4 separate regions of the Homo sapiens genome follow, and regions 1, 2 and 4 are each linked to region 3. Evidence: promoter capture Hi-C in human tissues and cell types (Jung and others, 2019). All regions are on one chromosome and are shown on one strand. Each heading gives the region's core, a stretch centred on a gene start or on the middle of the fragment in contact. The rest is flanking DNA. Distances are from core to core; before and after follow the strand shown. Region 1 has its middle 9.2 kb from the start of XYLT2. Region 2 overlaps ABCC3 (ATP binding cassette subfamily C member 3). Region 3 holds the start of MYCBPAP (MYCBP associated protein). Region 4 overlaps LUC7L3 (LUC7 like 3 pre-mRNA splicing factor).

Region 1 (2,767 bases), core at 137-2,636, 170 kb after region 3:
AGATTGACAGTAGTGTATTAGTCACATATACTCATAGCCCAGGGCAGGATATCACACACCATGCAGGGCCACACAGGGGTTGCGCTCAGAGACAGTGAGCAACTAAGGGCTGTGGGAGGCAGGCTTTGTAGTATCAAGAGGATGAGATGTCCCCTAGTTTCAGCAGGAAGATGTGACTGGCTTATGTGGATAATTATGCAGGCTGCAGGCTGGCAGGAAACTGAAACCCACTACTCAGGAATAAGCAGGAAGTGCTCCTGGTCCCCTTGATAAGGGGGGTTATTTGGCTGGGGGACCTTATCCAAGGGAGCAGAGTGAGGAGGTGAACTTGTGGCTAGGCCAGTCAAAGCCTCCCAATTTCACCGCATATAAAGTCAGTATCAGCATTTAATACTGCGCCTGAGTTTTAGGCCTTAAACGCATTTTGCTGTTAATTTTCCTTTCAGGGCTATATAGACTGTTCGTCTGCTATAATCTTCCTTAATAATTTAGAAAGCAAGAATTAGAATTCTTTAAAAAAATTTTTTTTTCTTTTTTTAGACAAGGAGCATCTTACTATATTGCCCAGGCTGGCCTTGAATTCCTGGACTCAGGTGATCCTCCCTCTTCAGCCACCCAAGTAGCTGGGACTACAGGTGTGCACCACTGTGCTAGCTCTAGAATTCTTTTTAAAATTCTACTTGTGTTTACTTACAACTTTTCAGATAATTTTAATGTGACATTGTTCCTCAGTGGGTAGGCCTGTGCAAACCTGTCGCCAAAGTCCAAGGAAACTGAGAGACTGAAGAAAAAGGCTGACAAATTCAGTTTCTTAGAAATAAACAATAGGAAATTAGAAACAGAAGCCAGGTCTGTGTCTTGTGCAGTGGCTGGCAGGGAGACAAGATGTTACCCCCTAAGACCCAGGGCTTATCTACCACAGGGAAGGGGTATATGTGATCCAGAAGGCAGGTGAAGGACAATTGAAGTATGATAACATCAAAGTTGTTTTGACCTAAGGGAGGTAAGTACCTGTTCTTACACAGGTAACAATAGATAGACTGGAAAGCTTAGAGGAATTCCCAGAATTGGGGCTAATCAGAAGTCATCATGGCGGCTTAGCCTCCAATATGGAGTTGCTTTAGCCTTCACAGATATTCAATGATCACAGTCCTCATAGAACTATAATTTTTATTTCCCATTGTAGAAAATTAGTTTCTCCCTATTCATCCCCACTTCTTTTCTCTCTCTACTATGTGAACAAGGATCATTCTCACTTGTTAAAAGTTCATCTGGGGTTATGAACTTTGTCATTTTGGTTTATAATGTAGCTAATTTCTTTTAAGGGAATAATCTCTCTTTTTTTTAATCTTCAGTTTTGAGACTATTTAAAAATATTTAGAGTAATGCATATATATTAACTTGTTCAATGCCCTTTGCCAAGTAGATAATTTAAAAAATTACTTCCTGAGGCAGGCAGATAGCTTGAGCCCAGGAGTTTGAGACCAGCCTGAGCAACATGGCAAAACCCCATCTGTATTAAAAATACCAAAATTAGCCAGATGTGGGACTACCGTCGGTAGTCCCAGCTACTCAGGAGGCTGAGGTGGGAGGATTGCTTGAGCTCAGGGGAGTGAGGCTGCAGTGAACCATGATCACACCACTGCACTCCAGCCTGGGTGACAGAGCAAGGCCCTGTCTCAAAAGAAATAGTTCAAAAATTTCAAAAATAAGGCAACGAATTAATTAAAAACTGTTTCAGAACAGCCAATGATCTCCCTTTCTTTCCCCTCTGCTCTCTACTTAGAATTAACCAGCCTGGCCCGTTTGCTTTGTTGCTTCCACATTCTTCTCTCTGCTCATATAAATATATGCAGATGTCAACCCTTTGGTAGGTTTCCACTCCATGTTTTACAGAAGTAAGATGATACAGAAATTACCCAACACTGTGTTTTTAAATAAATCATCATTTTATCATGGATACCCCTCCAGGTTAATACATAATAGCTACATAATGTTTATTACTTTAGTATAGATACACCATAATTTATTAAGCCATTCACCTGTTATTGGGCATTGAGGTCATTGCTAGTTATTTTGCCCCTACACATATGGCTTCAAGAAGCATCTTAGTTCATATCACCTGATATACTGGTGTCTTTATTTTTGTATGATAGATTTCCAAGAGTGAGATGGGTATGTACATTTCTCTTTTAAAAGATATTGCCAGAACATTGCAAAAAGGTGCTAGCAATCTGTAGTCTTGAGAAGACATGAAAACTCTCCTTCCCCTAAACCTCTAAGCAGGTGCTTCAAGCTAGATATTTTTCTCATTCTTGAGTATTTACATCTGATTTTTTCTCTACTGTCCTGGCATACATCTTCAAGTGATTTATTAAAGAAGAGTATTCAGGAGGGATTCTTTTAAAAATAACTTCCACACCTGAGGTCTTTTTGTTGCCTTCATACATGAATGACAACATGGCCTATCCTTTAGGTTTTTCTAGATCAGTGTAGTTCAAACTACAGGTCACAACCCACTCAATTTAAAGGATTATGGCTACATTTTAAAAAACATAGAATGGGGGTGGGACATGGTGACTTACACCTATAATCCTAGCACTTTGGGAGGCCAAGGCAGACGGATTGCTTGAGCTTAGGATTTTGAGACCAGCCTGGTTGTCTCTACTAAAAAAAAAAAAAAAAAAAAAAAAAATTGGCCAGGTGTGGTGGTGCATGCCTGTAGTCCCAGCTACTCAGGAGGCTGAGCAGGGAGGATTGCTTGAGT
Region 2 (2,740 bases), core at 208-2,707, 130 kb before region 3:
CTCTTTCTCTCACATCCCACATCCGGTCTCTCAGCAAACCCTGTCCATTCTACCTTCAAATTACAGGTTGAACGGCATGACAGTGCCACATTCAACTGTTCTTTTTTTTTTTTTTTCCCCACTGTAATCTTGACCTCTTGGGCTCAAGCGATCCTCCTGCCTCAGCCTCCTGAGTAGCTGGGACTACAGGCATGTGCCACCACGCCCAGCTAATTTTTTAATTTTTTTGTAGAGATGGGGTCCCACTATGTGGCCCAGACTGGTCTCGAACTTCTGGGCTCAAGTGATCCTCCTGCTTCGGCCTCCCAAAGTGCTGGGATTACAGGCATGAGCCACTGCACCTGGCCTTTATGATTCTTGTTTTACTGCCTCTTCCCACTAGAGTATATGCTCCACGAAGACAGATTCTTTAGCTCTGTATTCTGCAGTTGATGGTATTTCCTGTTGCTTAGAGCAGGGCCTGGCACAGAGAAGGTACTCAATAACCATCTATTGAACAAAAGAATGAATAAACAAATGAATAGATAAATGGAGGGTGCCAACTCCAGCCGCAGCCTCTGCAGCTTCATGCCCAGGAACACAGTGTTCTCTCCCTGGTACCAAGGCCACAGTTCTTGGCACCCAGAAGGGTCTCCAACTCAGTTATGTGTAAAATGAAGGTGAGGACAGGGCCAGTGAAGGTTATTCCCTGGACCCTGTAACACTCCCTGAATCCCTGCAGGGCAGGATGACGATCCCTACTCAAGGCTCTCCTCTCATTCCCGCTCTGAAGAGCACTGCTGGGAGGTGAGAGCTGAGCCCACAGCCCCCTCCCCCACCATCACCCACACAGTTTCCACAGCAACAACAGCTTCCTTAATAATGCGATTAAACAGCTGGATGGGGCTGATAAGGGGTAAGGTCCCACATCCAGAATGGACCACGTGGCAGAGGCCCCCTCATGGCAGACTTCATGGTCACTGAAGCTGAAATCACTGCAGACTCATACAGGCGATGGGGGCGGGGGGTGAGGACCCCGGAGCCCTCTGCCCCAGCTTTGCCAGGGACTTCCCAAGCCCTGGGGGCCCCAGGCCTGTTGACAGTCTCTGTCATGAGAAGAGTCATTACTTCCCTATTCCTGTGTGGTACTGGAGAAGGAAGCCACCACTGCAGGGCAGCTCCTGAAGTCCCAGATAGGGAAGGGATGAACAGACAAGACCATTGACTCAGCAGCAATGAAGGCGTGGAGAGAGCAAGGACACGTGCTGATCCCCACTCACCCTCCCTCAGCCTTTGGAAGGCCTGGGGGCAGGGGTCAAAAACTGGCTGTGCTGTAATCCCAGCACTTTGGGAGGCCGAGGAGGGTGGGTCCCCTGAGGTCAGGAGTCTGCGACCAGCCTGGCCAACATGACGAAACGCTGTCTCTACTAAAAATATTTAAAAAAATTATCTAGGCATGGTGGCGCATGCCTGTAATCCCAGCTACTCAGGAGGCTGAGGCAGGATAATTGTTTGAACCTGGGAGGCGGAGGTTGCAGTGAGCTGAGATCACGCCACTGCACTCCAGCCAGGGTGGCAGAGCGAGACTCCTTCTCAAAAACACAACACAACACAACAAACAAACAAACAAAAACTGGTTGTGCTGCGCCTGCTGGCCCCTTGCAGGGATGGCTCACGGGCTCAACTGGCCAATGTGCTTCTGGAAGGGGCTTTGGTTCACTGAGCTCCTGCTGTGGGCCAGGATGATCATTTCACGCTCATGACAGCTGACACCCAGGGCTGATGCTGGGATTAGACCCAGAGAGTTTTGTTCCAGGGCCCAGCTCCTTCCCACAGGATTAGTGTTTCCTGTACACCTGGTAGGACTCCGGCATGATGTCCCACCCTGGGGATAGAGCACTTGCACCCAGATCACCTTTCAGCCATGCAGCCCATTCTCATATCACCTGCTTTTTGCAATTATTCTCACAGAGCTGAGGGAGCAGAGCGGCTAACACCTGGGTAGTGGCCTAGCTGGGGTTCTGGGAGCCCCTGACTAGAAACCTGAATATCCAGTTAGGAGAAATCTGGCTGAATGCGGTGGCTCACGCCTGTAATCCCAGCACTTTAGGAGGCTGAGGTGGGCAGATGACTTGAGGTCAGGAATTTGAGACCAGCCTGGCCATCATGGTGAAACCCCGTCTCTACTAAAAATACAAAAATTAGCCGGGCATGGTGGTGTGCACCTGTAATCCCAGCTACTTGGGAGGCTGAGGCAGGAGGATTGCTTGAACCTGGGAGGTGGAGGTTGCAGTGAGTTGAGATTGTGCTACTGCACTTCAGCCTGGGCGACAGAGCAAGACTCTGTCACAAAAAAAAAAAAAAGGAGAAATCCAAAATCCAAGCCTAGAGTTAGGCTCTCATTCACTATCCCACCCTGCCCCCTGCCAGCCCCAACCACTGCACCGCAGTACCAGAAACAGAAACAACTTCAGTTCGGGAAGGGGAGGGGCCCAGCCACCCCAGCAATGGCATACCAGGTCTCATTTCACCCCCAACTCCCCAGGGATCCTGCCCCAATGGAGAGGACTGAATACAGTCCGGGTGCTCTGGCCCTACTCCGGGGTGGCTCAGCTGGTCATCCCTGCCAAGTCCTTCCTCCCTGGAAGCCTGCCCAGTGTTTCAAGACCATTTCCCTGTCTGGGGACTACAGGCGGGCTTGGCAAAGCTCCCTCCTGAATGCCACTTCCCTGACTCACTTCCTTCCCCGTATCTCTCTGGC
Region 3 (2,700 bases), core at 1-2,500:
CGCAGTGGTCCATGCCTGGAATCCTAGCAGTCTGTGAGGCCGAGGCAGGAGGATCGCTTGAGGCCAAGAATTTGACACTAGCTGGGGCAACACAGCGAGAGCCCTGTTTACAAACACACACACACACACACACACACACACACACACACACAGAAAAAAAAAGCTAAAAATTAAATTTAAAAATAAATAAATGGAAACAGCCAAAAAAGATCAAAAGGGGGTGGGTTGCAAGTGAGAACATGTCCATGGAAGTCAGTCCGCTATCAGACGCCCTGTGGCTCTCCCAGGTGCAACCAGAAGAAAGCTGTAGAGGGTAGGAAGCAGTCATATCTAGCGATTCTTTCCAGGCTAAAGGAGCTGGATAAGTGTCATCCAGCTGGAAAGTGCACGTGGTAGGAAAAGGCAGTCAAAAAGAGAACTAGCCAAGCAAGGCCTTTCTTCTGGGTTTTTCCAGCAGGAATCCTAAGTGACGCCTGCCCCGCTCCCCGACCCTCCTCTACCAAATAATCCCATCAAGGTGGCTGGTTTCAACACTTCATTCTTTCCTCTTCCCAAGGACCCCAATTCCTGGCCCTTCTACCCTTAAACTCTTTCCTGGCTCTTCTGCACTTCATCCAGTCCGGGGATCCTGCCTCCTGCATGCCACCCTAAGATGTGGTTAGAGGTAGCGCAAGGCCATCTCCCCAGCCAGTGGTCCCTGAGGCCCCTCTGTCAGTCTCCCACTTCCTATGTCCCCATCCCCAAGGCCCAGTGCGCTGTAGGCTCTTCCTGCCTTGCCCCCCATCCCTAAGGGTCCTATGCCCAGTACCCCACTTCCCCGTGATCTTTCCTCCATCCCTGGTGCCATCCCCATCCTCCAGGCCCCGTGTCCTGAACTCTTTCCGGGGACCGCTTCCCCTCTCGGGTTCTCCCGAGCGCCCAAGGCAGCCAGCGCCAACCTTTGACATTCTCTGAGGCCTCTAATAATCTGGTCGGAGTTATTCTGAGGCGGGAATCCTTCTTTAGAGACTTCATGGTGCCGCCCGGCACCATGAAACGTTGCCCTGCACCGCCGGCCCAGAGACACCGAGGCTGCGCCGCACCCGCCAGCCAACGGCCGCCACTGCGTCCACAGCAACCGGTGCCCCGCGCGGGGGCGCGCATCCACCGATCAACTTGGGCGGAGACGGCTTGGAAACCTCCTTCTTCATCGGGCCGCGCACGCGCCCGCCGCCGGCGGCTTCAAGAGCGACGGACCCCTAGAAAGCCCTGCGGGCCCGGCCTGTGACGCCACAGGCGGCGCCGACGAGCGCCGTGACGTCACCAGCCGGGCGGGGCGGGGCGGGGGACCCGGGCGAGGACCCCCGCGAGTTGCGGGAGCCGAGGGCTGGGTGGGAGTGGCTGGCTGGTAGGGGTGCATGACCCGCCTCGCCCCGCCCTGCTGCTAGGCCACGGGGGGCGGGTGGGGCGTCGGGGGTGCCAGCCCCTGCTTCCCGCCTTCCTCGACTAAGGCCACATCCTGTCGAGGGACCTCCCTCTGCCCCCCTCACAGCGGTTCTGGGGGGGGATCGGGCCTTTCAGGACGTGCTGAAACCCCTTCGTGGCGTACCGTAGGTTTTAGGTGTCCCTGCCTGCCGTCCCCAACTCGCACCAACGCGCCTGGAGACCTCCCGGGTCCACGCTCGCTGCAGCCACTTTGGCCTTTCATCACTTCCCAAACCAGCCAAAACTTTTGCCCTGACTTGGGGCATTCTCACAGTCCTTGGAGATGCTGCCTCTGATTATTTTAAGTTTATAAACGCACCCGCTTTTTTCGCCTTCCCCTGGAGCCCTGAGGCATTCTGGGATTATTTCGGTTTTTTGTGTAGTTGCCTATTGTCAAACTGGCTCTCAGAATGTATGAGAGCAGGAGCTGCCTCAGGCCCTGCCCCCAACCCAAAGTTTAGCACTAGTAGTCAGGCAGTAAATTGTACCTCAAATAGTGAAGGGGTTCTAGAGCCAGACAATTGGGTTCTAATCCCAGCTATGTCGGCTTGTTAGCTGTGTGTTCTTGAGCCAATGCCTTGACCTAGAGAGCCGGTTTTCTCTGCTGGGCACAGTGGTTCAGGCCTACAATCCTAGTGCTTTAGAAGGCTGAGGCAGGAGGATTGGTTGAGGCCAGGAGTTCAAAATTGACCTGAGCAACGTAGGGAGACTCCATTCTAAAAAAAAAAAAAAATTTTTTTTTTTTTTTTTTTGAGACGGAGTCTTGCTCTGTGCCCAAGCTGGAGTGTAGTGGTGCCATCTCGGCTCACTGCAACCTCTGCCTCCCAGGTTCAAGCGATTCTCCTGCCTCAGCCTCCTGAGTAGCTGGGATTACAGACGAGTGCCACCATGCCTGGCTAAGTTTTGTATTTTTAGTAGAGATGGGGTTTCACCAGTTGGTCAGGCTGGTCTCGAACTCCTGACCTCGTGATCTGCCCGCCTCGGCCTCCCAAAGTGCTAGGATTACAGGCGTGAGCCACCGTGCCTAGCCTAAAAAAATTTTTTTTTAATTAGCTGGCTTTGGTGGCCCACACCTGTAGTCTTAGCTACTCTGGAGGCTAAGGCAGGAAGATTGCTTGAGCCCAGGAGGTCCAGGCTGCAGTGAGCTCTGATTGCACCACTGTACTCCAGCCTGGGCAACAAAGTGAGATCCCCATCTCATACATCCATACATACATATATACATACATAAAATGG
Region 4 (3,028 bases), core at 407-2,906, 250 kb before region 3:
TTTCATTGAAATGGAACCATAGTGATGTATTCTTCTGTGACTTGCTTTTTTTGATCCTTCTATTGTTGAGTTTTGTCCATGTTCACATACACAGCTGCAGTTCAGTTTCACTTCTGTGGAATTCCACTGTTGGAATATACCACAGTATTTATCCAACACACTGTTGGTGGACACTTGGGATCTTCCCGGGTTTTTTCTTCTTTTCTTCCTATTACACACAAATGCTTAAATCCATCCCCTGGTACGCATGTGTAAGAGTTTCTCTAGGGTATGTATCCGGGAATGAATGGCTACGAGAGAGGTTATGGCACACCCACTTATACCAAATTGTTTCCCGTTTCCCAAAGTTGTTGTTTCTAAACATTCTTAAATCTGTTGACAAATGACCTATTTGGGATGGCTGAGGGGAAGAAATAGATCAGCTACAAAACTCTTGAATTTTTAAAATAGTAAATTCAAAATTCTGATACAACAATGAAAAATACATTTACTTCTCTGCTTTGGCTTACTTGAAATGTACTTTTTAAAACTACAGGTTCAACTTAAAAGTGCTCTCCTTTATCTCAAAATAAATGTTTCTAAATATTACCAGGTAAAAACAGCAAGACTCAGAACATACGGGTATACCGTCATATATTTTGAAAGATCTATACATATATGTTTATATTTCCTCCCACCTCCCATCTCCCCACAAAGAAAACAACTTGGAAGAATAACTGTTAACAGCAGCAAGCTCCTGCAGAGGAAAAACAGAGAAATAGGAGTAGTAGGAGACATAGATCACTGAACACTTTTTTTTTTTAACCATGGGCAACATTACAATTATAATACAAAATTTCAAAAGTAGACCTGGGGTTCTTTCACAAACAACTAAAAAATCCCTCAGGAAATCAAACTTGAAAACCAATCCTGCATGAAGTCCCATCCCACAGAATTGTATACATAATAACTTCAAGTGTTTTTTGTTTCATGCACATATCAGATGTTTAAAAACATATTCACATAGCCCATCTGCAATGCATTTTTAAAAACAGAATGGATGAGGGCTCAGAGAACTTCCACCATAAAAATTTTCAGTTCTTACAAGTCTGAAAACTTTAATCAGAAGGTGGCTGAGCTCAACCAATATGTGGTCCAAGTGTTCTCAGACCTTAGAAATAAGGTTGGTTATTTATCCTCTGTGACACTAACTATATTTAAGGAACCAGAATGCCTAAGGAGAGGGAGTAAAAATATCTGAGCTGAGCAATATGACTAGGTTATTATAAGCTCAAGATCAAGAAAAGGATGTTTCAACCCAAACTGAAAAATGAATGGACTGTGTTTGAAGGGGAAAAAAAAACGTTTTAACAAAAAGGAGCATGATATGTATTATCTCTACATTCCAGAGGAGAGGATGTCTTGAGCAGCAGACTGGTCGGTCCTCTTGAAAGGCTCAATGAAAATTAAACTATTGGACCAGTGCTAATATAGTTTGATGACCAACAAAAGTTTACCCAATTTGTTTTATACTAATGAACTGTTATTTAAGAGGTCTTTGTCTTTTAGAGATACATGCTGAATTATTTACAGATTAAATGGTGTGTCTGAGACTTGCTCGAAAATAATAGAAAACAGTGGATACAAATACAATCACTCATGAAGTATAAAAGTGGTCATGAGTCTTGTTGGTGATGAGTTAACAGAGGTTAATTATATTGTTCCTCTTTTGTGTATGTCTTTAAATTTCCAAAATAAAGTTTTTTTTTTTTTAAGACCAACTGATTGCAGATTCCAAACTTACCAAGCAATCTGATTGATTAAAACTGGTTTGCTCCCCTTAAAGACCTTCCAAAGAGAAAATACATATTCACCAACTAATAACTTTTTGGTCTGCATGGCAGAAATGTTTGTTTCTTCTAGTGAACTGGTCTCAATACTGGATTCTTGTGAGCTGGTTAGCAACAATCAGTTCCTCTTCAGTCACATCAATTTTGGGTGTAAAATTCAACTTCTACGTCTCTCTCCATAACTAAAGCCAGGCCTTAGTCATAGATGTCCTGGGGAGGCAGGTCCTCCTCCCACCACCCCCACATCCCAGGTAACTTCAATAGTTACAATATATCTAAGTGTCCATAGAGGAAGCCTTTTCATATGAACTCATTTATTATACTTCATTTAAGTTAGTTAGACGTTGATTCTAGATGAGGCAGAGCAGAACAAATCTGGTATTTTAGTAACTTCCTAGATTTTTTATTACTTAGGGACAGAATATGGTTTAAAAACTATCACTTTAAGTCCTTTGCTGCTACAACCACAATGCTGTCAAACTACACAAAGCAGTGCCTGGGAGCTATCTTTGTGTTTGTTAGATTTTACTTCCCATTTTATCTTAATCCTCATGTGAATTATCTCTTACAAATTCAGAGATAACCCATTCATCTATTGCTGCATCTCCAGGATCAGCTAGGGAGCCAGGAGGGCTCTGTCTCCACAGCATTTTTTCATACAGAGCCTCTAAAGTGGGGGCGGCTTCATTATTTTTCAAAGTTTGGTGGAAGAGATTTTAGTAAATTCTTTAACAATTCATTATGCCTATTAGAATGAACACAGTGGCTTAACAGGCACTGGACCATGAGGCAGAGACCTAGCAACTCCATAAACATGAAGCCACAGGACCCTCCCTGGATAAGTCATTTAACACACTGTTTCTTTACCTATAAACTGATAGCAGTATTTGCAAGTTATAAACCACAAGGAATTGCTATGATATATATGTATGTGTGTATATACGTAGCTGGAGAGAATACTTTTATACAGTCGAAGAAGCTGGCTATAGATAGAAACATGCTGCCGGTTTTCCTAGATGTGACACAAAAATAATCACTTAAGTGGGGGGAAAAAACCCTTGCCATATATACTACACACCCTATACACAAATACATTTATAAACTGACACAGCTGGGTTAATCTTGATACAGGACTTAACAAAAACTAGCTCTTGAATGCTTTTCTACATCATCCCATAGCTAGCCAGCTAAAGAGTGCT

Evidence for each region. The method cuts DNA at HindIII sites, captures the fragments that hold promoters and counts their contacts. A contact is called where the count stands out against the background at its distance.
Region 1: a contact is called between a fragment that was not itself captured here and the fragment with the promoter of MYCBPAP in region 3, in 1 of the 25 tissues and cell types used here (aorta).
Region 2: a fragment that was not itself captured here is called in contact with the fragment with the promoter of MYCBPAP in region 3 in 3 of the 25 tissues and cell types used here (dorsolateral prefrontal cortex, lymphoblastoid cells and neural progenitor cells).
Region 4: a fragment that was not itself captured here is called in contact with the fragment with the promoter of MYCBPAP in region 3 in 1 of the 25 tissues and cell types used here (stomach).

Annotation. Positions count from the first base shown.
Region 1 is chr17:50,335,515-50,338,281 of GRCh38, reverse strand. No RefSeq gene overlaps it. Among named protein-coding and RNA genes, the nearest start is that of XYLT2, 9.2 kb to the left of the region's middle. The HindIII fragment of the contact is 7,744 bases long and covers 1-2,767 here.
Region 2 is chr17:50,639,371-50,642,110 of GRCh38, reverse strand. All of the region lies in intron 1 of ABCC3 (ATP binding cassette subfamily C member 3), which reads right to left. Among named protein-coding and RNA genes, the nearest start is that of ABCC3, 5.9 kb to the right of the region's middle. RefSeq lists enhancers at 1,089-1,383, 1,061-1,831, 2,281-2,740. The HindIII fragment of the contact is 6,297 bases long and covers 1-2,740 here.
Region 3 is chr17:50,506,989-50,509,688 of GRCh38, reverse strand. MYCBPAP (MYCBP associated protein) reads right to left here and starts at 1,250. Exons shown (of 19, transcript NM_032133.6): 1 at 939-1,250. The coding sequence starts at 1,014. RefSeq lists enhancers at 1,025-1,154, 1,175-1,234 and a silencer at 1,255-1,544. The HindIII fragment of the contact is 18,604 bases long and covers 1-2,700 here.
Region 4 is chr17:50,752,961-50,755,988 of GRCh38, reverse strand. LUC7L3 (LUC7 like 3 pre-mRNA splicing factor) reads right to left here. Exons shown (of 10, transcript NM_016424.5): 10 at 1-3,028. Among named protein-coding and RNA genes, the nearest start is that of ANKRD40CL, 13 kb to the left of the region's middle. The HindIII fragment of the contact is 7,164 bases long and covers 1-3,028 here.